7 separate regions of the Homo sapiens genome follow, and all the other regions are linked to region 1. Evidence: promoter capture Hi-C in human tissues and cell types (Jung and others, 2019). All regions are on one chromosome and are shown on one strand. Each heading gives the region's core, a stretch centred on a gene start or on the middle of the fragment in contact. The rest is flanking DNA. Distances are from core to core; before and after follow the strand shown.

Evidence for each region. Contacts are between HindIII fragments. The study calls those that stand out against the background at their distance.
Region 2: a contact is called between a fragment that was not itself captured here and the fragment with the promoter of MPDZ in region 1, in 2 of the 25 tissues and cell types used here (dorsolateral prefrontal cortex and lymphoblastoid cells).
Region 3: a fragment that was not itself captured here is called in contact with the fragment with the promoter of MPDZ in region 1 in 4 of the 25 tissues and cell types used here (IMR-90 fibroblasts, dorsolateral prefrontal cortex, mesenchymal stem cells and 1 more).
Region 4: a contact is called between a fragment that was not itself captured here and the fragment with the promoter of MPDZ in region 1, in 1 of the 25 tissues and cell types used here (dorsolateral prefrontal cortex).
Region 5: a fragment that was not itself captured here is called in contact with the fragment with the promoter of MPDZ in region 1 in 2 of the 25 tissues and cell types used here (dorsolateral prefrontal cortex and mesendoderm cells).
Region 6: a fragment that was not itself captured here is called in contact with the fragment with the promoter of MPDZ in region 1 in 1 of the 25 tissues and cell types used here (mesenchymal stem cells).
Region 7: a fragment that was not itself captured here is called in contact with the fragment with the promoter of MPDZ in region 1 in 1 of the 25 tissues and cell types used here (heart right ventricle).

What each region holds. Positions count from the first base shown.
Region 1 is chr9:13,277,929-13,281,561 of GRCh38, reverse strand. It overlaps MPDZ (multiple PDZ domain crumbs cell polarity complex component), which reads left to right and starts at 1,870. Exons shown (of 47, transcript NM_001378778.1): 1 at 1,870-2,162. RefSeq lists enhancers at 2,247-2,962, 2,963-3,633. The HindIII fragment of the contact is 5,465 bases long and covers 286-3,633 here.
Region 2 is chr9:14,210,756-14,214,388 of GRCh38, reverse strand. All of the region lies in intron 2 of NFIB (nuclear factor I B), which reads left to right. Among named protein-coding and RNA genes, the nearest start is that of NFIB, 100 kb to the left of the region's middle. The HindIII fragment of the contact is 3,827 bases long and covers 1-3,575 here.
Region 3 is chr9:14,187,445-14,191,077 of GRCh38, reverse strand. All of the region lies in intron 2 of NFIB (nuclear factor I B), which reads left to right. Among named protein-coding and RNA genes, the nearest start is that of NFIB, 120 kb to the left of the region's middle. The HindIII fragment of the contact is 4,047 bases long and covers 1-3,633 here.
Region 4 is chr9:14,103,326-14,106,958 of GRCh38, reverse strand. The region is part of intron 10 of NFIB (nuclear factor I B); the gene reads left to right. Among named protein-coding and RNA genes, the nearest start is that of LINC00583, 180 kb to the right of the region's middle. The HindIII fragment of the contact is 3,850 bases long and covers 1-3,607 here.
Region 5 is chr9:14,085,313-14,088,945 of GRCh38, reverse strand. NFIB (nuclear factor I B) reads left to right here. Exons shown (of 11, transcript NM_001190737.2): 11 at 620-3,633. The coding sequence ends at 637. Among named protein-coding and RNA genes, the nearest start is that of LINC00583, 160 kb to the right of the region's middle. The HindIII fragment of the contact is 5,711 bases long and covers 1-3,633 here.
Region 6 is chr9:12,698,689-12,702,321 of GRCh38, reverse strand. It overlaps TYRP1 (tyrosinase related protein 1), which reads right to left. Exons shown (of 8, transcript NM_000550.3): 5 at 1-51. LURAP1L-AS1 (LURAP1L antisense RNA 1) reads left to right here. Exons shown (of 4, transcript NR_125775.1): 4 at 1,696-2,323. Among named protein-coding and RNA genes, the nearest start is that of TYRP1, 7.1 kb to the right of the region's middle. The HindIII fragment of the contact is 8,728 bases long and covers 1-3,633 here.
Region 7 is chr9:12,718,732-12,722,364 of GRCh38, reverse strand. The region is part of intron 3 of LURAP1L-AS1 (LURAP1L antisense RNA 1); the gene reads left to right. Among named protein-coding and RNA genes, the nearest start is that of TYRP1, 27 kb to the right of the region's middle. The HindIII fragment of the contact is 5,784 bases long and covers 1-3,633 here.

The DNA of each region.
Region 1 (3,633 bases), core at 621-3,120:
TAACATTTCATGCACGTACTTCCTTTGTATTTGAGAATGACCAGATTTGAAAACTGACAAGTAGAAGTGCTATTCAAACAGGAGGATCCCTTTGGAATTTCTAAGCAATAAGAAAATCCTTTCCAAATGGGATGCCTTGAGGTGACTCTATGACAAGAACACAAAAGTTATATGGAGAAATTATTCATTCTTGCAGTCGTATATTCATCCTATTTCATATGAGTGCCAACCAAGTGTGAAGTTTTTACTAGGCTCTGAGGATAAAATGGTGACTTAGCCCCTGTTCTCATGGAGTTTATGGTTGAAGAGGGAAGAGACATTGCATAATTACAAAATCAAATGCATATTTACAAAGTAGGAAAAATATTATGAAGCAAAAGCATAGGGTACCATAAGAATGCATCACAATGGGTTTATCGTAGTTTGTGGGAATCATGTAGCATCTATGGCAGTTCCATTCACTGGGACACTGAACAAGATGACCAGGCTTGAGCAGAAGTATCACGGCTGCATTTTTTTTTGCAATCTAGGTTTGAGACAAGCAAACAGGGAAGCCAAATAAACACTTGAATATATGGATAAATCTGAAGGTATAAATGTAAGATTCTGTAGGTACGAGATCATAAGCTAGAAGTGAAAATGTATTTAGAGGTAAGAGTTAAAAGGAAAAGAGGGCCCGTAACTGATTTTTAAGGAATTCCAGCATCTAAAGATTGGGGGAGAGGAGGCAAAGAAGACTGAAGAGTGGCCTGGGGACAGGGGCAGATCTACCTGGAAATTGATGTAGCTTAACGTTCCGGGTCCTTCTCTTGCCTGGGAGCAACCCTAGCAATGTGTTTACATGGGCATTTATTTTTTGAATTTTTCTAAAGAAAGATTTTTTTTTTTTTTTTGGTTAAAGCAGAGCTCCCAATTGTACAAGCTTCAGAGCCCATACATCCGCCCTTGACTAAGCGGAAGAAGCAAAACCAAGAGTGTGATTGCATGGAATTACAAGAGGGGTGGGGTGGGGAGGACTCTAGGAAGAGAGAGGTCAACAGCTGTGAATGTGTTTGAAAGTCCAAGGAATATGAGAAAAAAGTATTTTTATTCAGAATATTAAAAGAAATTCTTTTAAATGTTCTAAATTGGACTTCTGAGTATCCTTTGGTCCTATAATCTAATATCAGAGGGATATTTTGAAAAAGAGTTTCTTATGCAGAAAAAAATTCGTGGGACTTCCAAATTGAGGATAACAGAAAGAAAATCTTAAGTGGCACAAAATAGAAATGAATATCTGTTCTTCCTGGGGCCATGCAACTCTAATAACTTTTCCATGTTTACTGTTTTTGCTTTTTAATTGGATCATCAGACTAAGAATGCACCCTGATGTGCGAAAAGTTACTTAGAAAGTGAGAGGACTGCCCCCACCCTTCTGATTAAAGCGCTTCTCATAAGCATCCTATGCCATTCAGTAAGCTACCCATGCAGAAAGCATCCACAGGGCAGTGCACATAAGGAAAATCTGAGGAGCTAGAAACAGGCTATCAGTTTCCGCAGGTTGACAAAATCGGCAGATAAAAATACAAGACTGCCATTAAATTTGAATTTCCGATAAACAACGAAGAACTTTTTAGCATAAGTACGTCCCAAATATTGCATGGGATATACTTGTACTAAAATTATTCCTTTTTTTTTTTATTTGAAATTCCCATTTAACAGAGCAGCCTATATTTTATCTGACCACCTCACAAGTCCACTACCCACACCCCAGGTCGAGCGGCCCAGGAGCGAGTTTAAAACCCCGCACAGGCCTGCTCGGCCGCGTCCCCTGATTGGCCAAGGCGCGCCCGCCGCCCCGCCGGTCGCAGGCGTCACGGCAGCCCCAGCAGCCTGGGCCCCGCCACCGCCTCCGCGGCAGCCCCGGTCGGCGCAAGTGCGGCGCGCGCTGGGGGAGGGGGCGCGGCGGAGCGCTAGGCTGGCGTCGGGCCACCGCGGGATTAAGTTTCTCAGTCACGCGTGAGTGTCTGTGCGTTTTGATCCGAAGCTCCTCGCCGGGTCGTTACTTCAGAAGAGAAGACAGTGAGCGTGGGCGAGGCGAGGCATCCAGAGGCCCCGGCGACCCCTGCTCCCCAGTCCTCCGCCCCCTCGCGTCGCGGCCCTGGGCGGGCGCCGCGAGCCGGGTAAGCGGCGCTTGAGCCCCGGCCCAGAGGCCGAGGCGCGCCCCCGCGCCCTGCGCGCGCGCCGGCGGGGAAGGTGCGCGGGCGCCCTGGGCTCGGCGCTTGGGGGTGGGGGTGGGGGCGGGGATGGGGGTGGGGGTGGGGGTGGGGGTAGGGGTGGCGGCGGGCCGTGGGGCGGTGGGGCGGTGCGCTTGCCCCACCCCGCGCGGCCCGGCGCTTCGCGGAAGCCGCTGCTGTGGCTTTTTTAAAAGGATGGGGTCTAGAAGTTTCCTTTGCTACTCGCAAGTCTCCACTCCCCCCAGCCCCGCGGTGGATAATCCTAGACCTTTCAGCACCCCCGCCACCCCTTTCTTTTGCTCTCGCTGACTAAGAGGTTTAAAAGTTTTTCCTTTTCCTTGACCCAGAGGGGCACAGTCTTGGTGTCGGGGGGCTGGGGGTGGGGTGTTAGCCTGGGGGCCCGGAGCGCAGACCAGGCCTCCAGGGCGCGGGAGCCTGTTGCTCTCCCCTGCAGGGGCCGCTCCCGGACGCCCCATCCGCCGTTACGTGGTCCCGGGATGTGCGGGTTGCGGTAGAGAGTGGGCAGCAATGCTCCTGGTCCTGCGTTCTCGCCTTAGCCGCGGGGACCCCGAGGCGAGCCGCTAATTGGTACCGGTGCCCCGTCCCTCACCCCTGGCACCGGCGCCCTTTTAACCGCCGCTCCCGTTGGTGGGAGCACGTTGGTCTTGTCTCTCCCTTAGTCTCCTCACCCCCCGCGCTGATGGGCGTCTTTGTCTGCGATTTGGCAGCCCCAGGATGCCGGATGTTACCAGGGAAGCGATGTTTGGGAGACGCTTTGTGTCTTGCGGAGTTGCGCGTTTGTTGGGTGGTGATGGTGTACATTTTTGTTTGCGTTCTTTGCAGAGGCACAAAGGCTGGGCTATTCTTGCCTGCAGTCACATGGAAATCAAGCGGAGACTGCGGGGGAGGAGAAGTGGCCAGGCGCCGGCGGGAGGTAGAGGCCGCTCCGTAGTCACTGGGGGCGAGTGGGGGCCCCTGGAGACCTCTACTGCGCGGTGCGGCTTTTGAGGTGCTCCGCTTGGGAAGACCCCGGCAATGGGCACTGACTGCCTTTTTGCAGTAGGGGCTGCGGTTGGAGGCTAGTGTTTCCTAGGTATCATCAGATAGATAAGAGGACCATGACTTCACCAGCGTAGAAGGAAAACTTCTCCATGTTCCTTGATGTCATAGAGAAGGAATCTGATAAGTGATCAGACTGCCTCGTCCTGCCTTGTAGACAGTTTGATGTAAACATCCCCTTCGTGTTTCCCTAGAAATTCCTGGTTTAGGTTACCCTTTATAGAATAAATAACACCTTATCTGAAAACTAACGAGGAGGAGGTGATGGTTTCGGGCTTGGGAGTTTTACATGTTGAATTTGGGTATGAGTGATTACAATGAACATCTTGTAATGTTGGAACTATCTAAATTTGTATAA
Region 2 (3,633 bases), core at 413-2,912, 930 kb before region 1:
AAATTAAGAGTTTCAAGATGGTGACAGAAGAGCATGAAGCCAAGCATGGGGACCACGTAAGTGGGGCTCTATGTGACTGCATGGGTCCATGCTCCTGACACTGGCCCTGTGTGCTTTGAGATCCTTGAGCATGCTCAGGACCTGTGAGGAGAAGAGCAGGCTGGTGGGGAAGGGGAAGTTGGTGCCTCATTCAGGGATGTGCTCAGAGAAGTGCAGGTTCTCTCTTTGGGCTTTCCTTATCTCTGTCGCTTCTTCAGGAAGGGGAATTAATGGGGGGCTAGGATGTGGCCTATTTGGGGAGCAGAGTGGGGAGTAATAAAGAAGGGTTGAGGAGGGCTCTGCTAGAAATATTGGAAACGAGACCTGATGCATAGCCCGAAGGTGGCATCGATTCTTAAGTAAAATGATGTGAGGTGAAATGAGGGGACTCTTCCCCCCTTAAATTTGGAGCAGTGGGAGTTGGGGGTATGTTTACAAACCACTTCTGGAATGTTGAGAACAGAGGCAAGGAAGCATGTGATAACAGTTCCTTACAGTTTTAGGACACAGGGAACACATTTTCCTAAGAGCACAGATGAGGGACATAAAACTCAGCCCAGCAGCTTGGGGTATCAGGAAAGGCCCAGAAAGAGATCCTGAGCAATGCATCTGGGTGGAGACCTGGGTGTCCACATACTGTTATTCATTTAGCACTTTGGACTTTATGCTAAGGGCTATGGGGAAACCACTGAAGGCTTCTGGAGAGAAGCTACATCAGACTTTCATTTTCTGAAGTATTTCGGTTTCCCATGTTACTGTGTAGCAGTGGTTCCCAAAGTTTGGTCCCACGACCAGCAGCACTGGTCTGACCTGTGAGCTTCTGGGAAATGCAGATTCATGGGCCCTATCTGGACCTATTAAATCAGATCTCTGAGGATGGGCCAGAAACTCTGTTAGGACAAGCTCTCTGGGTGATTCTTGTGCATGTTAAAGCTTAAGAACCACTGCTGTGGAGAATGGATGGTGGACCTGACTTAGGAAGTGTTTATTACAGATCCCTTATGTGACTAACAAGGAACCTGGGGGCCCGCGTTAACTTTCCAAAGATCAACCTGCTGGTGGATAGGTAACTTTCCAAAGATAAGTAACTTTCCAAAGATCAACCTACTGGTGGATGGTAATCAAGAAATACCAGTTACCTGACTGTGCCCAGTCTTTCTGCCATGGAAACTTCCCAGGCAGTGAGAAGATTATCATAGCATTTTAAAAAGAAAGGTGTAATTATATGCTATATTACCTTTCAGAAACAGCGCTTACAAAAATACGAATGGAAATAGGCAAATAATGTAGTGCATAAACATGATTGATGTATAATTTTTGATTTTATCACATTTTATATGTGATGCATATTGTGTTTGTGTGTCTCTGAGACTGGAATGGGGAAGCAGGAAGTAGCTGTTATCTTAACTTAAGCTAATTATTCTCTAAGCAGTGAATTTACTAGGGCTATGACCTTGGGTAAAACATTTAATCTCTGTGAGCCTCAATTTCCTTATCTATGAAATGGGGATAGTAATATCTACCTAACACAGTTGTTAGCGTAAGGTGGCTTATGTGAAAGTGTTTTGTAAGTTGTAAAGCATTTAAAGCATTATAAGTGTGAGCAGTATTTTTTTATCATATAACTTAAATCCAATCATCTAGCAAACATTTATTAATTATATTATGTGAAATATTGTAAGTGTAGAGTTTTAAACATGTTTTTTTTTTTTCCCAGAGGAATTATAACCTTTTGAGATGATTACCTAAATTATTCACACTATTACTCAGTGGTGAACCCATTCAAACAATATGGACAATTTTATTAGAAATTCCCAAATCTATATTTTGGATTGAATTTAACCTAGTTGTTAGTTGTTTTCTAACCTTGTTTTAATTTTTATTTTTAGTAGGGATACTTAAGCACATTGTGACATGGTGTACTGTACTTTAGTATGTTTAATGTTGCCCTTAAGGAGATCATTCAGTTTAATAATTAAATGAGTATATAATCATTTGTATAACCTTCCAGGAAAGCAACAAAAGTGCATGAGCAATTTCTAAGTAAAATTAAGTCAGTGAGTGGTTTATGTGACTCATCAACCTTAATGTGAATTGGAGTAGTTTTGCTTTCATCAATTGGAAATAAGTATTCTAATTATTTGTATGAGTCTTTTGGTTGCCCAGTTAAGCAGTTAGATGTTCCTTACAGCCGTAGGCTAGGCTTTCTCAGGGATTTATTAATTTATGCCTCTTTCATGTTAGAATGGTTCATTTTTAAGGAAAGTCCAGTTACCTTTAGAGATGACACTTATTTTATGATAAATGGCAACGTATTTGCATTAACACTAAGGCCATATTCCATTTCATATGGGCTAAATTGCAGCTACCAATAAAACCCAGTGGTACATTATTTTGATGTGGGTATTCTGGTCAGTGGAGAGATCATTCTTTAAACGCTTTAATCTTTTAAATGTCTATTCTTTCTAGAGGCTGAAGAGCTTTCTAAAGTGTATACCTCCTTTATTGAAAGTACAATATTCATGTCACAACTCAAATCACTTTTAATAACAATATGCTATACTGTTCAACTCTGATTTCCTTTTGGAGTCTACGAGAGGGCTGACGTGGAGGGGCCCACCAGCTGGGGAAGCACAGCTCAGACGGCCCCGCAGGGTGGATGGCACAGAATCTGATATAAACGGGTAAACTTCTGGCCATTGCCCTGGTCACCAACTCCTTTGACTTGTTTTGTCCCTGGCTCTGGATTCTGTCTTCTGGATTCAAATTGCAGTTTGTCCAGTTCCGTGCCTTGAGTAACTATACTAGTATTTTTTTAAGGTAGACAATGGGAGTGGTCAAAGCTTTTATCTATTCTCATTATTTTTCAGCACAGTGTCATTTTAAAGTGAGTAGAATTATTTTTTTAACTTTGTTTCTTAACCAGTGTAGACCCAATTTATGTATTCCCTATATCCTGTTTCTGTGCATTTCCTTGCTGTTTCTTACTATCGATCTAGGATAAAATGTATTTCTTTTAAGAAACTTCCCAGGTCCATTCATATCTGAATCCAGGATGTTTTTTGAGTGCAGTTTTTAAAATTGAATTCTAATTCCAGATTTTAAAAATAGCCCAGGTAATATTACTGTTAATCACACAGAAAAACTATTTTTGAATACAATATTGTAGAGGATTAAGCTAAGAGCACTGTTGTTTTGAAATGAAAAATTTTAATTTTACCGCAAGTTTTTCCAGGTTGCAGTGATACTTAACATTGTACAAATACATGTATGTAATTAATACTTTAAATTTTTAGGGAATGATTGTTGAGTATCTGGCTTTCAGTCCAAACAGAGACAAAAATGATCATGTATACAGAGAAGCAGAAATTCAGTACGGTTTCAACCTATTAATTAGACTTTCCTTTACTTTCCTATAATCAAAGGTGAGTAACTTCCCAGAAAATCCACAGTGTACAAGAGATGCGGCTATTTTGATACATATTAGCACTGACACAAATGAAATTTGAAATGGGAAGTTTTTTTAGGACTCAGTGATGAATGTTTACATTTGAAAGTTAAAAATTTTCTTTCTGTTTTTTTCCAGTAAAAATT
Region 3 (3,633 bases), core at 740-3,239, 910 kb before region 1:
GGGACTACAGGCACCCACCACTACGCCCAGCTAATTATTGTATTTTTAGTAGAGATGGAATTTCATTATGTTGGCCAGGCTGGTCTTGAACTCCTGACCTCAGGTTATCCACCCACCTCAGCCTCCCATAGTGTTGGGATTAAAGGCATATGCCACCGTGCCTGGCCAGGATTATCTGTATTTTAAACTGTTCTCTTTAAGTGACTGTTTGAAAGAATATTGCCCCATAAAATGCCCCATCTTCATGTCTCTGTGAGCTTGTAAACTTTTCAAAGTTCTTTCAAACCCATTATTTCACTTATTAGAATATTCTTGACCTTCTCTTTTTACAAAAAGGAAAATCATGTCAGCTATTTTTTTGTTTTTATTTTATCAGTATAATTGAGTTCCTTTCTTTGCCTGCACAGTTTTAATTTGCAAGAGGAAATTACTGTCTCCTCATTTGTTTCCTCATTTTATCCCTTTTCAAAAATGTTGGTTCAATGATGCATTATTCAAGTAGTTTTATTCCTGGTATATTAACTTTTGCCTTGAAAACATGGGGACAGAAGTTCTTTGAACCACTTATCAAGGAACTGTTAGGACATTTAATACTATTATCTGCCACATCAGCAAGCTTCCTGTTCATCAGATGACTTATCTGATTTTTTTCCTCTAATATTTTGATAAAGTTATTTTATGAACAGAAGCAGTAATGAATACCCCACGTACAAATCTACTTTACCTTTGTAGAAAGTAGGCTATGCATCATCTTACTCTGTTATCCAGTTAATTGCTATGCATCTTGAGTTTAAATGTATACATTTATTTTTATATGAATATAGTATCACAGACTTAAGAGCCATAATTTAATAATAAAACAAGGACTGGTTATTAATCACATGTAAGTAACATAAGATATAAAAAACCCATCCAGTTTCTTCTCTCTAAGCTCACATAAGGATATAAACATAAACATTTTAATGATTTGGCAAAGTATCTTTTTAGCTAACATGATAGAGAAATCTGTATCCAATTTAAAAAATTTTTTAGGAACATATGCCTATGAAAAAATGAGCAATGAAAAAATAAGAATATGACTTTTTGGTCATTGAGTCAATCACTACATTTGTATTTGTAGAGAGGTTGTAGAAACTTAAAAATTAGAATATGTGTAGATAATAATCAAAAACTGAAAGTTATGATTGGTATTACTGGCAGTTTGTTTGTAATTTAAGGAAGATGAACTGTTTTAACTGCTACCAGTCATCATCTTGTTCTCTGTAAAACAGTGGTTAGTCATTCAACACATACTGATTGAGCATCTAGTATGTGCCAGGAATATGCTAGGGCAGTGAATAAGACTAACATGTTTCTTGACCCCATGGGTTTTAAAATGTAGCAGAAGAGTTGCACTCTAACCCAGCCCTTCAATTACCTGTGTTGTCAGCGTTTGCAAGGGGCAGTGCAACCAAGTAGGTGGGGATTTTTTTTTTTTTAGGAGGGGGAGGAGGAGTACTAATTAAACCTTAAAGAACATTAAATATATATATCTCATAGCCTTTTTCCACAAAAATACTTGTGCATATTTCACTGTTGTGTGAAATTATTTTTTTCCTAGTATTTCTAATTCCTTTGAAAACAACTAAGACTAAACTCTTACCTTTCATTAACTAGTTGCCACTGGGCAAGATGAAAACTGATTCGTGCGTGAAATGGTTTGCTTAGAGTCAGCGTGCTAGTGCTTGGCAGTTGCCGGATAGAGCCCAGAGTCCTGACTCTCCAGGCAGTTTGGAGAGAACATGTCCTGCTCCCTGAGAAGAAAGATTGCCAATGAAATATTAGAAAGTCTTATGTCTGATTTTAACCTAGATATATTAAGTGTTGGGAAAATACATGAAGTGACATAGCACAGAGGGGCCATGTGTACACAGGAGTGTTGTATGTGTGGGATTTAGAATAATGCGTGAAGACTCCAGGATAAACCAGATATGTAAGTCATGGTGCTAGGTAGTAACATAAATGCTGTTCAGGACTTTGGAGGTAAAACAGCACTTATTTTTCTATGCTTTCCTTTTAAGAGAAAAATTTAAGACTAATAGGATCATAAACATTGCATTTGTTTTATGTTGAAATTCTGCATTGATTTTTCGATTTGCCTTCATGATTATGTTCTTGAGTCTGATGACATTCTGGTTTTCATTTTCAGATTCTTATTTCACCAGCATTTTCTTTGCACTACATACCTTGTTGTAAAATGCAGGTTTCTTGGTTTCCAAGGGGAAAAAATGTATATTACATAGTATAGCTGAAATCCAAAATGTCTCCCAGATGGAAAAGAAAGAACATTCATCTCATCTTTTCCTACTGGATCTGGCTGGGTTTTGGAAAGGACTTTATTATTTTCATGTGGCAAACTGCGTTGGCAAATTGTTCCTCAAAGTACGCAGTGGCGTGTTCATCTAATATTATAAGATATGGGCAGCATTTATGAAAGATTATAAATCTTACAACCCTCTTCAGAAACTTAAAATACAGCTGGAAATGTTTTGCTTCCAACAAATATGCAATCTTCATAAAATTCGAAAAGAAATGTTTTGAATAAATAATGTTTTAGTTTATTTCTCTCTAGTGCGAGAGCTATTTCTTTTAGTCAAAATCGTGCCATAAAACTCTTCCCTCCTCTACATTAGCACCCTTGCCTCTGTATTTATATTATGCTGGTGCATTTAATGTATATTTTTAAGTATGCCAGATTGCTTTGCCTTGTTTTTAAAGATAGAAAACTGGATTTGCTCCCAGGGACTCTTTCCCTAACTCGACCAGTTTAAAAACTAAGCAAGGATTGAGTCAGTTAATTAATTTAAATAAGATTACAAATCAAAAACATATTATGCAATCTTGATTTAATTACCACATTTTATTTACTTAATTGAAAACACACTGTAGAAAGTCAGCAATCTTGACAATGACCAGTACGGTGTTTTTGCATTCTGTAGGTTAAAGCCTTCAAAAGCAAGAACTGTAGGTGATCCTGATTATGACCTTTGGTTCACTCAATCCCTAGATCAGTAGGAAGTCATTGAACTTAATCTTAGGTTAGGGCAGAAAGGTCAGATATGATTATCCTAGCTTCCCATTGTTGTGGGGGGTGGGTTGGTACTACTTAATGAAGTACCACAGCCCTCTGGTCAGAGATGTTGGCAGGTTTAACACTTTTTGTGCAGGGTTTCATATTTGCAGGGGATTCATTAGTAGTCCCCTGTGGTAGAATGATTTGCTTTGATTTTTTTTGATATATGATTTTTGATAATATGATTTTTTTTCCACCTTAAATTTCAGTGGCCTATTTTTTCAGTTAATTCCCTGTGGACAAATTTCAGTCTTGAGCGCTAACAAATCCTTATTTTAATCCTTGGGATATGACTCTTTGTACCTAATCTCCTTGTTAAGCAAAAAAGTGGCTCTTTAAAAGAAAGCTTAATGATAAAACAACTGGGATGTTCAGGAATGAAACAGGATATATCGTATATCTACTCTCTTGTTCTGTAGTTTTCTTTGGTTAATGAAATTACTTTATCATGAAGATCTTAAGTGTAGCAACATCTTTTTAAACTATGCGTTTTGCTAAATCAAACGTATATTTTAAAATCA
Region 4 (3,633 bases), core at 433-2,932, 830 kb before region 1:
TGCCTGTGTTGATTGTTCTGTTCACAGTTTAATGGTTTATTGGTTCAGTTGAGATTTGTTGTCATCGTAGGAACTGTTAGTACCTCAGCCTGTTTGCTGAGTCTAGCAAAATAGAACATTTTGCTTACCTTCTTTCTTTTGTTCCCAAAGCTAATTGCTGTGTATTTAACAAAAGACCCTGTTAATAACAAAGGAGGACCCCCATTTGAATAAACAAACTATTAGTCTGAAGTCACAAGCAATATTAATTCTTTATGGCTATCTGCTACTTACATGATTATTTGAGTGTAGTTTAGGAAAGGATAATGATCCAAATCTTAGGTGTTTCCCCTTTATGTAGCCATTTGAGAGGAACCAGATGGCCCCTATCCTTTTTCTTTTTTTCTTTGAAGCAATCTGATTTGAACTGGGCCAGGAACAAGGTTCTCTTTCCAGAGACCACAGAACTCCACCCTAAGAACATATGCAGTGAAAACTTCACCTTCACATCTTTCTTATTTGTTTAAACTGTTCCAACCTTCCCCCTTTACTGATAGCTTTTTTGGAAGATAATCTTACTTTCTTAGTTCACCTTTTATTTGGTTTTGAAATTCTGGGCATTTTCTAGACAATAGAATTTCATATTGGTATGTGCATATAAATTAAAGGATTAAAATGATTTATATGAGTGTGCATTTTTGTAAGGATATGCATATGATCAGTTCTTTTTGAGAGTCTATATTGTTACAAAAATAAGAATTGTTCCCCACCTCCACATGAAAACAGACAATTCTAACAGACTGAATTTCTAAACTGAGTGGCACTTGGTATTTTAAATTTGATTACTATTGGGAGAAAAAAGCAATTTCCTATTTCTTAATAAAAAATACTTGGAAAAATTCTTACAGCATTCTTAAAGCTTTGAACTTAGAAAAATTCTATATAAATGAAAGGCATGTATTTATGTGCCACTTAAAATTAAAGTTTTAAAATAAAAAAAGAGAATTTACAGCTGAATTACCTAACACTGATTCTGTCACAGGACAGAAACTAAGGAATCACCACCCCAAACTCAAAAAAGATTATCACCTATTATGTTAAACTTATTTAAAGCCTAATGTAAAATTATTTTTTATTAGGAAAACTGAATTATGCTAAAGGCAAGAATATGTAACATGACCCCAAAAGAAGCTTAAATACATGTAGTATTAACCTTTTAATATATAGAGTCTGTTCACAATTTGCTTGGTCAGGAATATCTTGGTCAAATAAGATTAGAAATTGATTTTCTTAGGAATTACTATCATGGAAATCTTTGGTGAATAAGTGATTTCTATTTTAATGATTTAATTGCATCCCCCACCCATACCATCACTTTAAAATTTCACTTTATCAGGGAGTTTTGTTAGTTCCAAGATGCTTTATGACCAAGAAGGTTTATTAATTGAAAAAAACCAACATGAAGAGAGAGGCTCTTGCTCAAGTAACCTGGCTTAAGTTATAGCGTGTCTCCTCAGAAAGTTCAAGAAATGTTGTAATGGTAGTGCACAATCTAAACAGATAAATTAGTTTCTTATATTTTACATTTTTAGTAACTAAAAGGAAATTCAATGCTAATTAATATATTGCCAATTTATTTGGCATTAAATTATTGCTAAATATATTTGTTGTTTATTTTGAATGTACTTAAGCATATTTTTCTGTTTGGGAGAAAATATTTCTATTGCATATATCTTAAATAGATGATAATGAATAGCTGTAGTCAGGTTTATCCACTTTGGGACTACTTTTAGAAAAGAAAAGTCCAAAAATACGTTCATTTTTATGTGTGCAGCATATGGTCAAAGATAGCCCATTTGACATTTTTGGGGGTCGTAAAACAAACAAACAGACAAAATATTAGCAACATTAACAACAAAAAAACTAACTCATTTACAACACATCCTTCTGAGGAGATGTGGTCCTACAGTTGTCTGTGGGACAATAAGCAATCAGTGAGTGGTATTTAGATTCCCCTGGCTTTGTGAAAGCATATTATTTTTCTGAAAACTTCTCCAACCTAAGCTGAGAGCCCCATAGATACTAATCTGAAGTTAATAATTAACATAATTAATATGTACTATGCCTAAATATACATCTCCCCTCTTCCAAATGTTTGATTCAAAACTAGCATTTTCACCAGCCTGGGCAACATAGCAAGATCTTATCGCTACAATTTTTTTTTTTTTTTAATTAGCCAGGCATGGTGGCACGAACCTGTAATTCCAGCTACTCAGGAGAGTGAGGTGGGAGGATCACTTGATTTCTGGAGGTTGAGGCTGCAGTGAACCATGATCGTACCAGTGAACTCCAGCATGGGCCACAGAGGGAAAGCCTGTCTCAAAAAACAAACAAATAAAAATTAAACAAAACCCTTCCATTTTCATTGACTAGAGTAGAATCAGTAAGTGATAAATCATTAACATTCTTGTTATACAAAGCCAAGTTTCTTGAACTGTTTTTTGATTGTTTTCATTGTACTTTTAAAACTTTTACAGTAAAAAAAACTGTAAAAAAAAAACAGAAGACAATTTGCCCCATCACACTAAATTTGATTAGACGACCCATTTTGAGAACTTTTAAGAAATCTTGCCATATTGCTTCCCGCTAGACTGAACACATTTACTTCTTTGAAATATTGAAAGTATGTCATCTGATTTAAAACAAAGCAAAGTGTACTTTTTTTTCCTTCATGTGAGTATTTTGGTCCATTTTAAGAGTATTTATGACCAGGCACCCGTGGCTCACACCTGTAATCCCAGCACTTTAGGAGGCTGAGGTGGGCGGATCACTCAAGGTCAGGAGTTCGAGACCAGCCTGGCCAACATGGCAAAACCCCATCTCTACTAACAAAAATTAACTAGGCATGGTGGCACACTCCTGTAATCCCAGCTACTTGGGAAGCTGAGGCAGGAGAATTGCTTGAACTTGGGAGGTGAAGGTTGCAGTGAACTGAGATGGTGCCACTACATTCCAGCCTGGGTGATGAAGTGAGACTGTCTCAAAAAAAAAAAAAGAATATTTATTTTTCTTTCTAATTTATTTACTGATTTATGACTTCTTTATGACATATATCCTGAGCAGAATCTACATGTCTATCAATCTGTTGATCTATCTATGTATATGCAGGGAATTTTTTTCAGTTCTTTAAATCATAAAATCACTTTTACTTGAAATCCTGAAATATGCAAATAACTAAAACACGTGGTTTGGAAATTTTAGCTAGTATTTTTAGAGCCTCATAGATCGATAGAAAAATGAGCAAAAACTATCTTTCTAAAACTCCTGAATCACTATTACTTAGTGTGTGCAGAAGCTCGATAGTCTAAAAGGGAAAGTAAAGATTCTTAATAGCCTATTTCTTTGGCCACAACATTATCAGAAATGTTTAAAATAGTTTATCATAAATTTTAAGTTTATGATAATTTATGGTACTTTGGTTCCAGTCATCATCTGGAAATTCTCACTGAAAAGCAGCAAACAAGGTTTAGTGGATTACTGTGAAGAAGTCATCTTTTCAATGTAAGATGCTGTTAATTTACAGTGTGGCCATCTGAAGGTTAAAAACGATGATTTTCTACTGTGTTTCCCCCCCCCCAACCCAGATAAGTTTAC
Region 5 (3,633 bases), core at 311-2,810, 810 kb before region 1:
ACTAAAAAACTCTGATTAAGGTATGTTTGATAATTGGGCATTTCAAATTGTATGTTATGCATGGGCCTACCTTAAACATGTAGTTTTTTTTCCTGTTGTAAGGAGAAAAGAAATATCTTTCACCGTACTTTTCAATTGTATTCAACCCAATAGGCAGGTAAGAAATTGAAACCCATCTGACCACTGAATTGCTTGTGAATTAAAGGTAAAATAAGATTAGAATGTAACTGGCAAAGTATATTGGTACCAACAGATTGCTGCTTTTCTTTTTCTTTTTTTTCCTGTACAAAAAAGAATGATATTGCATTTATATTGATTAATGTAAAATATTTTAGAATATCCTCAATCGGTTAGAATTCAATAATTGTTTATATATCTTACTCTGGATTTTTCTGCCTCACTTTAGTCTTAATTTTCATTTAAAAAATAGACTATAGAGTTTAGATAGGTGTAACATGTATAATTTGGCACATTTATCTCATATTAGACTGTAATTTTGAAAATAGGGATAGCAATAATTTGATGCATCTGGAATTTATATTTCTCATATTGTTGTAGATTTTAACATTGTATTTTTTTCTTTTTTCTTCCCTCCCTGCTGCCTCTCTCCTCTCAACAGTCCTGGTACCTGGGCTAGCTTGGTTCCTTTCCAAGTGTCAAATAGGACACCCATCTTACCGGCCAATGTCCAAAATTACGGTTTGAACATAATTGGAGAACCTTTCCTTCAAGCAGAAACAAGCAACTGAGGGAAAAAGAAACACAACAATAGTTTAAGAAATTTTTTTTTTAAATAAAAAAAAAGGAAAAGAGGAAGACTGGACAAAACAACACAAAGGCAGAAAGGAAAGAAACTGAAGAAAGAAGATAATAGACCAGCAATTGCAGCACTTACAATCACTAATTCCCTTAAGGTTGAAACTGTAATGACATAAAAAGGGTCGATGATATTTCACTGATGGTAGATCGCAGCCCCTGCAACGTAGCCTTTGTTACATGAAGTCCGCTGGGAAATAGATGTTCTGTCTCTATGACAATATATTTTAACTGACTTTCTAGATGCCTTAATATTTGCATGATAAGCTAGTTTTATTGGTTTAGTATTCTTGTTGTTTACGCATGGAATCACTATTCCTGGTTATCTCACCAACGAAGGCTAGGAGGCGGCGTCAGAGGTGCTGGGTGACAGAGCCATGAGCCAGCCATTTTATAAGCACTCTGATTTCTAAAAGTTAAAAAAAATATATGAAATCTCTGTAGCCTTTAGTTATCAGTACAGATTTATTAAATTTCGGCCCTTAACCCAGCCTTTTCCAGTGTGTAACCCAGTTTGAAATCTTAAAAAAAGAAAAAATGAAAAAAAAAGGAAAAAAAGAAAAAAGGAAAAAAACAGTTTGAACACAAAGGCTCTATGGAAGAAATGCCTCTATGTAGGTGAAGTGTTCTCTCTGCATGCAACAGTAAAAATTAATATAATATTTTCCCCACAAAAGAAACACTTAACAGAGGCAAGTGCAATTTATAAATTTATATCTAAAGGGGAATCATGATTATAAGTCCTTCAGCCCTTGGACTCTAAATTGAGGGGATTAAAAAGAATTTAAAATAATTTTGAACGAATTTATTTTCCCCTCAGTTTTTGAGGGCATTAAAAAGGCATTAAATCAAGACAAATCATGTGCTTGAGAAAAATAAAATTAATGAAAACACAGCACTTATGTTGGTTTAGCTGCAGCCTCCTTGGAGGTAGAATTTATTTATTTAAAATTACTGGTTGCATCAAGAACCCATAGGGTGTACAAAAGGTTCTATAAAATCTGCATTATAGAGACAAAGAGGCAGGCAAATCCATGTCACAAGGGTAAAGCTTACAGTTTACAAACTGGGAACGCCAGGGTGTAGGATATAAAAACGCACTCTTGAGAAAACAAATGTAATCAGGGTGCTGAAAACTTGCATGGTGCTTTCAGACATTAGCCTTGTTCAACAAATTTCTTGTATTGACAGATCCATAGTGTGCATGGGCAGACACATTTTGCCTCTATGTCTCTTAAAATTTTAATTAAAAATACTCTTTCCAGTAATCCTAATTTGCACGAAGATATAATGTCCACATTACGTGCCTTGCCTTGAAATCTAAAAAACAAAAAACAAAAAAAAAAAAACAAAAAAATACAACAAAGTGACATCACTACACTTGTTTTGCTGCATTTATTATCATTTTAAATCTTTACCATTTTTATGACAAAATATTTTGTACTCCAGACGAAGAAAAATGTGTGACATCATGGATTTTTTAGACAGTTATACCTTTATCTCACATTTATAAAGCATATCATGGCTGTGTATAGTTGCCGCTTAAAAATTGTAATCGACCAGCAATATTTTCAGTATTTTGGTGTTTTTTTCTATTAACCTTTCATGTTTTTCATCTTCCAATTAATATTTGGGGGGGAGGGGTTTCAAATTTATACGAATTATGCAATACCAAGTTTTGCCTATGTAGGTAGTGCTTTTAGCTGTATTGGTTATTATAGGTAAGTACACAGATTTAAAAAAAAAATAATGTATGCTTTTTTGTTTGTTTGTTTGTTTTAATTGACCAAAGTGGGTACTGCTATTTTTGCAGTGTGATGAGGTCCTTTTGTGTACTGAGAGATGGACAGGGGATTTTTTTTAATATACATATATATATATTCTGGGGTGGGTGGGAGGATTTTTAACACTTTGCAGTGTAGCTGTGAAGCAGTGCACCCTGAGATGGGCCTGGGCTGCAAAGCGACTGTTCTGCCTACTGTGACAAACTTCAACTTACACAGGTTCCCCTCTCTAACTTCCCACCTGGGTTGCAAGCTGAACTCATTACTGGTTTTCATAACAACACAATAGTAAGAACAAGCAAACACAACAAATTCTCCTGGAGGCAGACTTGGCTTAAAAAGGCAGACTTGGCTTGGTGATAGTTTTTCTTGAAAGTTCCAGATCCACAGTGGAGAGTGAGCCTGTCTCATATTTGGCAAAAATATTTGTTGAAATGTCCACATAGGGGATGTTGGATGTTTAACACTTTTGAGAGTTTAACACATGAATATTCTTTCTCCTAGAAAACACATTAGACCTGTTGGAGGGAGTCTCCCGTATTCCTTTTCTGCCACTTTTCGTCCCCATTTCATTTCATTAATGATAGGATATGATTTACCTGTGACTTACTACTTCAAATGGATGGCAGTGCACTTGGATTTTTTTTTAATATCCAGAAGATTGAACAGAGGGTTGCTATTGTTGAATGTATTTGGACTGATAGATTAAAATCAAAGTTCAATTTTTAAGGAACAAAAAAGTAAATCCTGTTTTCATTTTATCTCCCCTTTTAAAACTGAGAACCAGAGCAGAAGGGAAATATAGAATTTTAAGCAATTAATCTTCCTGTGGATGAATTAAACCCATTAGATGCTGATGGGATTTTTTTAAGGAATGGTACCTTAACTATATATTTGATTTCGTTTCCCCTGAGGGCTAGAGGCTGAATGGAGGCTGGTTTTATTTTGCCTTTCCCTCACCGCCCAGTCCCATTGAGTGTATTCATTACTAGAAGGAAAATCTTTCAGAATTGGTGACACATGGTAGGCTGTC
Region 6 (3,633 bases), core at 311-2,810, 580 kb after region 1:
GTCTGGCCACATTTCCAGCTGGATTTCTCCTAATTGGCCCATCCTCGGTGCCTGCAGAAAAAAATGGGATGTGGAAACATTTACACAATGTTTGGAGTTCTTATTGTCGCTCTTTAAAACTTTATACATAGCATGAATATGAAATATAGGTTTTCCTTGGTAGAAAAGAAAATTTAAAAATGCATACTTGGTAGCATTAAAATGAGAAAATCTAAGTTACCATGTCCCATTTCTTTGAATCAAGTAGATATGAGATACATAAAAGTATCTGAAGGAAAAAAAAGAATCACACTAACAGATACAGGTGTTGATATTTGTTAAATCAATATATGCTTCTTCCACAAGAATGTATTAAAATGAAAATTCCATGGAAAATTGAATTTTGCCAAAATAATCTCATAAATCTAGTTCTACACTAAAATCTTTATGTCACATATATGTGATATTTTGTATGCAAATGCTGTCTATTTAAACCTTCAGAGAAATAAGGAAAAAAAAACCCTTACATTTCTTTGGAAAGTGATACATATGTCAACCAACACACATTTTTCAACTTTTTCAGCAATTAATGTGAGAAATAATGAAACTTTGTGAAGGGCAGTAACAAACAAAGAACTGTGATACTAGGGATAGATAATATGATAGGAGCCTTAAAGAAGAGAGATGGTGGGAGGGAGCAGGGAAAGAGAGAGAGAGATCCTGCCCAGTCAGATCTCCAGAAAGGCTTTATAAAGAAGAGAGATTTACACAAAGCCCCATAGGATTAAGAAAAATTTTCTTAGGTGAAATAAATTTTACAAGACAAACATTTTAGGCAGAGGAAATGGCAAGAGATGATACACTTTCTTCTGTCTATAACACCCCCTATCTGTAACAAAAAAAAACTTTGTATCCCACAGACTTGGCACAGTACCTGGCATTGAATAGGTGCTGAAGAGTTGTTTGGTGCCTGTCATTATATGGAAAAGATCATGTTAGCTGTAAAATAAACAAAAAAAGGGGGAGGGCCTGTTTGGGAAATAGTTTGCCTGGAGTATGTGCCAGGATAGTAGTGGACTGTAGGAAAGAAAAGAAGCTAGACCAGAGCTATATTGTGAAAAAAAAATCAAGTATCAAGATAAGAAAGTTATGTGTGATTTATTAGGAAGTGGAGAGAAGTCAAAACCTTAGATGGGTGGGAGGAGAGGTGATTGGTTAGGAAAATTTTGCATCATTCTGTCCCAGTGGTCTCCAGAAAGGAATATATGTACCGTAAAGGGACAAGCAAAACAATCCACTAAGCTGGTGAGAGATAATTTTACAACTTCAACTCATATTCCTTTTCCTTCATTCAGAAAGCCTCCCATGTTCTATGCTTTATAATTAACGTAATAATCAGAACCTGTTAAGTTAGCATAATGAAATTTAAATAATATGTAACTAAAACATATGCCTCAGGTGGGATTGGAAACTATTTATTGAGTGTACATTATCACCCAAAACTTTCACCATCACTAGCTAGACTATCAATTCAAGCTGATGTTTTGGGGATTACTGCTCAGGAAGCTATCAATAAATCCCAAGAAACAAATATTAATTACTTGAGTTTCAAAACATTACATTCTAATTTGCCCTCACAGAGTTCCATTGTAGAAAATGCTGACAGTAAAGAAACTAGTTTATATAAAAAATAAACCAGTTTGTTTTTTATTCCAGTGATTCTTAAATTTGTTTGCATATGGACAAACTCTGCCATTGCACCTAACATCCTATGGACCAAAGTCCTGTGGAATTTCCACATAAAAATAAATGGAAAGTTGCCCATGTCTGAAGAAGAAAATATATTTGAGAAGTACTGTGAATAAAGAACAGTGTTTTTCTATGTTGATTCAAAGATGGTATTTTGGTGGCTGGAAGAACGTTAGCTGCAATAAAATATTAACTATTTTCAATCCACCAAGTTTGGCGCATTAATTTTGAATATTGGAGAAATACTATGCAACAAGCATGTGAAGACATGGGTATGGAATATTTAAAGAAAGAAGGTTTTATCTAAAGGTGGAAACGTGTGGGTCTCCAGTAAAAGATGACGAATGGAACTACAGAAATGGACAAGATCATTAAAGAAGAACAGTAATAGAAGAGAGAATTGTTATGAAGACTAAATAGGATACTATATCAATGCATTTCATACTATATCAGATACATAATATATGTTCAATAAAATGATAGTTTTTCCCTTTCCTTTGCCTTATAAATAAAATGTCTGCCATTTATCTCTTGCAGTGAGACAAGGGATAATCTTAAAAATATTTTAACCTAAAATAAATATTCTTCAATTTGTCATGAGACTATGTGTCTGAGTTAGGAGACTTGTTATATTAATTGACAAGAAAAATTATGATGAAAAGAAAATCTCTTCCTCTTTCTTCCCCCTCCTGTGCTATGATTGCATTCACTCATTTAAACTGTGTTTTATTTTGGTATCCAATCATCAGGGTGATTGGGAAATGTCTAGAAAACTCTCAGGCCAAAATACAATGGCCTGGTCACAAAGAGTATAAACATTTTGGCATCTGCAGACATCCTGATCCTCAATTTCAGTTCTCTGCCACAAGGTGGGATCATGCATTCAGCATACCAAACAAATACAAATTTATTCTAAGTTTTAAACTTCTACAGAGGAAATTTTCATATATTATCACTTCTCTTATTCCTATACATTGCTAAATAATCTAATGGTGAAAATATGTATCTAATTCCTGCTGATTTATTTAGAGTATTTCTTATTTAAGTTCATAAAATAATACTTGATGCATAAAATAATACATGTAGAATAAGTATGTGGTGATTATAATAAGAAAACAAATTCACATAACTCTTATTTTTATATGGAAGAACAATCAAAAGAGCCATACATGCCTGAAGAAGAAAAATAAGATGAGGTAGGGGGTGTCTAATAATTAAACCTTGTGTTACTACCACAGGCACAAATAATAATATGATCCAAGGAGGAGAACAGAAAGCTCAGGAAGAGATCTACATGTGGCAGAAACTTGACCTGTGACAGTGGTGGCATTCAGATCACTGGAGAAAGGATGCTGGGACAACTGATTAGGCGTACTCTTACTGTGTTCACTTTGGAAGAGCTGGAAAGCAGCTAGGGGGCAGACATCAGTACAATATACTCCTTTTCTGAAAACTATCCCCCATATCAGCTTTTGTTTTCTAACTTTATAACTGCAAGCATACATTTGGTTTGCTTCTTTTCTTTTTTTTCTTCCCAGGGCATTTCCAACTTTTTGCCTATTTTTCACATTTTCTTAGGAAACATTTTCTGTGAAATTCCAACACAAGACACATGACTTCTAAGTAGTGCTAAGAAAACTAAGAGGATTAGTTTATACAACTAGACATTTCCAAAATAAGAAAGTTAGCAAGATATTGACCAAACTACTCAAGAAAGGCAGTGTAAAAATGTGTAGGCACTTTCTGTTTCCCCTGGAGCAACTTCTAGAGTACCTTGAACATTCTAGGTGTTTAATGAATGCCTGGTACACTGTTACTCTATAATAAAAGTAGATTTTAGTCTGAATTCTCTAGTAGAATGAAGGGCCTTTCAGGCAACATATTTAATCTCTTTATCTAAAAAGA
Region 7 (3,633 bases), core at 686-3,185, 560 kb after region 1:
TAAATCTGAAAGATGTTTTCACACGGGCAGGTGAGTCAACCTTTCTTGTGCAAGCTGTGACTACTAAAGCCATCTTAATTACATGAACATGTAAAGAAAAGGAAAGCAAACCAATAAACAAACTAGGTTTAGAGGAGGAATTTGAAATTCTCTGCTAATTGGTGAAACCAAAATGTCTATCATAGAAGTATTCTAAGTAGAAATATAGCATAAAAAGATTCCATGTAAAGAGGAGGAAAAATAATTGGAGAGCAGGAAATTTGGGGGAAGATTTATGAGGTAAAAGCAGAATTCTTCAGTCAGTTTTACAGTCTTGATTCAGTGTCTTCTATCATTGCCAGAAAACTGTCTAAGAATAAACTTTTCACAGCAGTTTAATGAAGAAAAATGAAGAATTTGGAACTGGCCTCATTTTTATCTATTGGTAATAACTGAGCCAATTTCTCAAAATGGGCACACAAAGAGAGTATTTATGGTAAGCTCAAAAATGACCCCCGAAGATGTTCAGGTCCTAATACCTGGAACCTGTGAATGTTACCTTATGTGATAAAGTGGACCTCGAAGATGTGATTAAATTAGGGACTTTCAAAGGAAGAGATTATCCTGGATTATTTGGTGGGTGGGTCCTAAATGCAATCACAAATTTTCGCATAAAGTAAAGATGGAGGGAGATTTGACAGAGGCAAAGAAGGCCATGTGACATAAGGACATGTAAGCAGAGTCAGAGAAGATATGATCCTACTGGCTTTGGAGATAGAGAAAGGGCCATGAACCAAGGAATGCAAGGTATGACACTTTCTGTAGAAGCTAGAAAAGGCAAAGAAAAAGACCTCCCGAGACAGTACAGGCCTGACCATGCATGGGTGTCAGCCCGGTGACTTTGTAAAAACAGCTTTCAGAAGTGAAAAAAATAAATTTGTCTTGTTTTAGGCCACTAGGTTTGTTGTAATTTGTTACAGTAGCAAATATAAAACTAAAACAGTACTTTGAACTTATAAAATAATTTCACTAGAGATCTTCAAAGATATTCTTAAAAAAAATTTACTTAAGCAGAATTAAAATTATTTAATGTTTTGACAAAGTACAAAATAAAGTCTCAAAAAAAGTTGACACTGTCCCAACCTTATTCTCTGGAGAACACTGATAGATGAAATTTAATCTTGAACTATGAGAGTGACATGATCAGTTAGGTTAGTCATAAGGTTATGGAAGAAACTTGAGTAGACTAAGAGTTGGTGCCTAAGAAAGGCTAATAATTTGTCACCCATCCAAACTAAGAAATGAATAAATATTCATCCATTATAGTTGGCAGAGTCACTTCCATCATGGTAATTTTTTTTTTTTTTTTTTTTTTTAGTTTTTAGTTATTTCTAAGTTCCTGTCTGTGATCAGAGAGGTACCTGATTTTGCCATAATTGGAGAGGTTTATCTGTGAGGTCATTAGAATTATATTTCTGAATTTTCCAGTGGTGGTTTTCAGACTTTGCTCAGGTAACAGAGTAATGGTAGAGATATGAGACGTAAAGTGCACTGATTGGCTCTTCGGAGGGTAGGGATTGTGCTGGCTTTGAAGTAGGAGCTCTGAAAAGGATCTCAAAGATCCTATCAACTTGGCTTTGCTTCCTGATTGCTCTGTATGTGATTATCTACCTGATCCAGATCTCCAGCGTTTTTTGAGGACTACAATCATACCAGCAGGAATTTAGACACATACATCTATCCATACATTCCTTGTGTGTCATATAAGAATTGGATTGAGGGCTTCATGGAAAACTGACAGAGCTATTTACATTACCTGAGATTTTGATTAACAATAATTTATATGATCTCCTCAGAAACATGTTTTGCTTAAATTACATGTCAAGGTATTTATTTAGAGAAATATGATGTCACAAAATATTCACAACTGTTGAAATAAATAGTCTATACAAGTCTTCATTGTTTTGCTTTGCTTTTTCAGATTTCTGGGGCTTTGACAGTTTTCAAAATAAAGCTTGGAGAAAAATTACAAAATAGGGCGTAATGAATTTCTTAAATACACTGAAACTATCGGTGCAGGCGTGTCACTATTACTTTCCTGGTTTGATCACTGGGAGTCATCCAGTTGATACACAGCCTCCTCAGGAAACTTAATTTGGAGAGAAAATAGAGAAGGATTCTCTATGACTGGAGGAATGTGGATGACAGTGTTTTAATAGAATACATGTTATGATAAATGTCAGTCACACACTCATTAACATATTTGTATCTTGTGTTATTTTAAAAATTCTGTGTTAGTCTAATTAAACAAATCTACGCCATTGGTGATAAAGGTATAATGCAAGACTTCCTGCCAATGAGCATTTTAAATTGAGCCCAATTATTGTAATGGGTATCAATAATTATCTACAAAGTTTATTGAAATTTTAGAATGTTAATGTCTGTCCACAGGACAAGGTAACTTATGATAGCCAATAATGAATGATAGGGCTTTCCAATGCCAAAAAAAGATGGAAAAAACAATGTGTGTTTGTAGAAATATATCATAGCCATATCTTGTTCTTTCTAGTACAAAATCTATTCTGTCATCTGCAGATGAACATTCATAGTGGCAAATTTAGTTCAGTTTTCAAAAAAAATCTTTCAAATGTATAAATAGTATGGACTAGCAGTAAACATTTATTTTACTGTGCTCCTACTTTTTTCATTAAATCTAAGCTTTAAAAGTTCTGGGAGTATACTGACACCTAGAGGAAAACAGCTTTAGGTATCATTTATTTCCAGTGGTTCTTACAGCCGCTTGTAGATAGATAAAACTCTCATGGCTGGGGCTTATTTACAATGCTTTTTTTTTTTTTTTTCTTTTCTAGGTAGACTTTAAATTTAGTTTCTATAGGAGTATCTCATAGTAAAAGGTATAGAGTAATATGGAGGAAAGAGAAGGAAAAATTAAGAAACCTCATCCTTTAATGAAATAAGAATTCATACCAAGATTAAACAGTATCCTTGTCACTCAGTAATGCCCTGTTCTGAATGGCCACAGCTACTTTCTGAAGTCAGTAGTTTGAAGATAATTTTTTAAAATAAATTGAAGGCAGATTTTTTTACAAGTATATATTATGCAGTTTATTTGAAAGAATGAAGTTTGTATTGGAACAAAATTATGGTATTATACATATATGCCTAACAGTTTGGGACTTGTTCTATGTCTACACATGCTGTAAGAATTTATTTATATATTTTAAGTCTAATTTGGGGAATCAGAACTAGATATGCATAGTCTGATTTTGCCTCAAATACATGTTCTTTTAGAGTTTAAATTGAAACATCACAGTCACTCAGACACCGAACAGGGAGCACTAAACGTATTGGGAAGGGTTTCAATCTTTCCATGGTAAAGGGACATAAATACAACTTGAGTATGGGAGAGATCTATTTTGAGCTTGCCTCACAAAGCTGTGAAAGCACAAAAGAGGCAGACGGCGCAGCCACAAATGAGGCTACTGAAAGGAATGTTGCCAAACCCAGGAGCTCCCACAGCTATTTGCATAAGTGCTAGCAAAGTTCCTCAGCCGATCTGGTCCTGCACCCCAGACGCGGAGAAGCAGATGAGGCAGCAGATGACCATTTACACTGCCAGGGTGTGTGAACCAG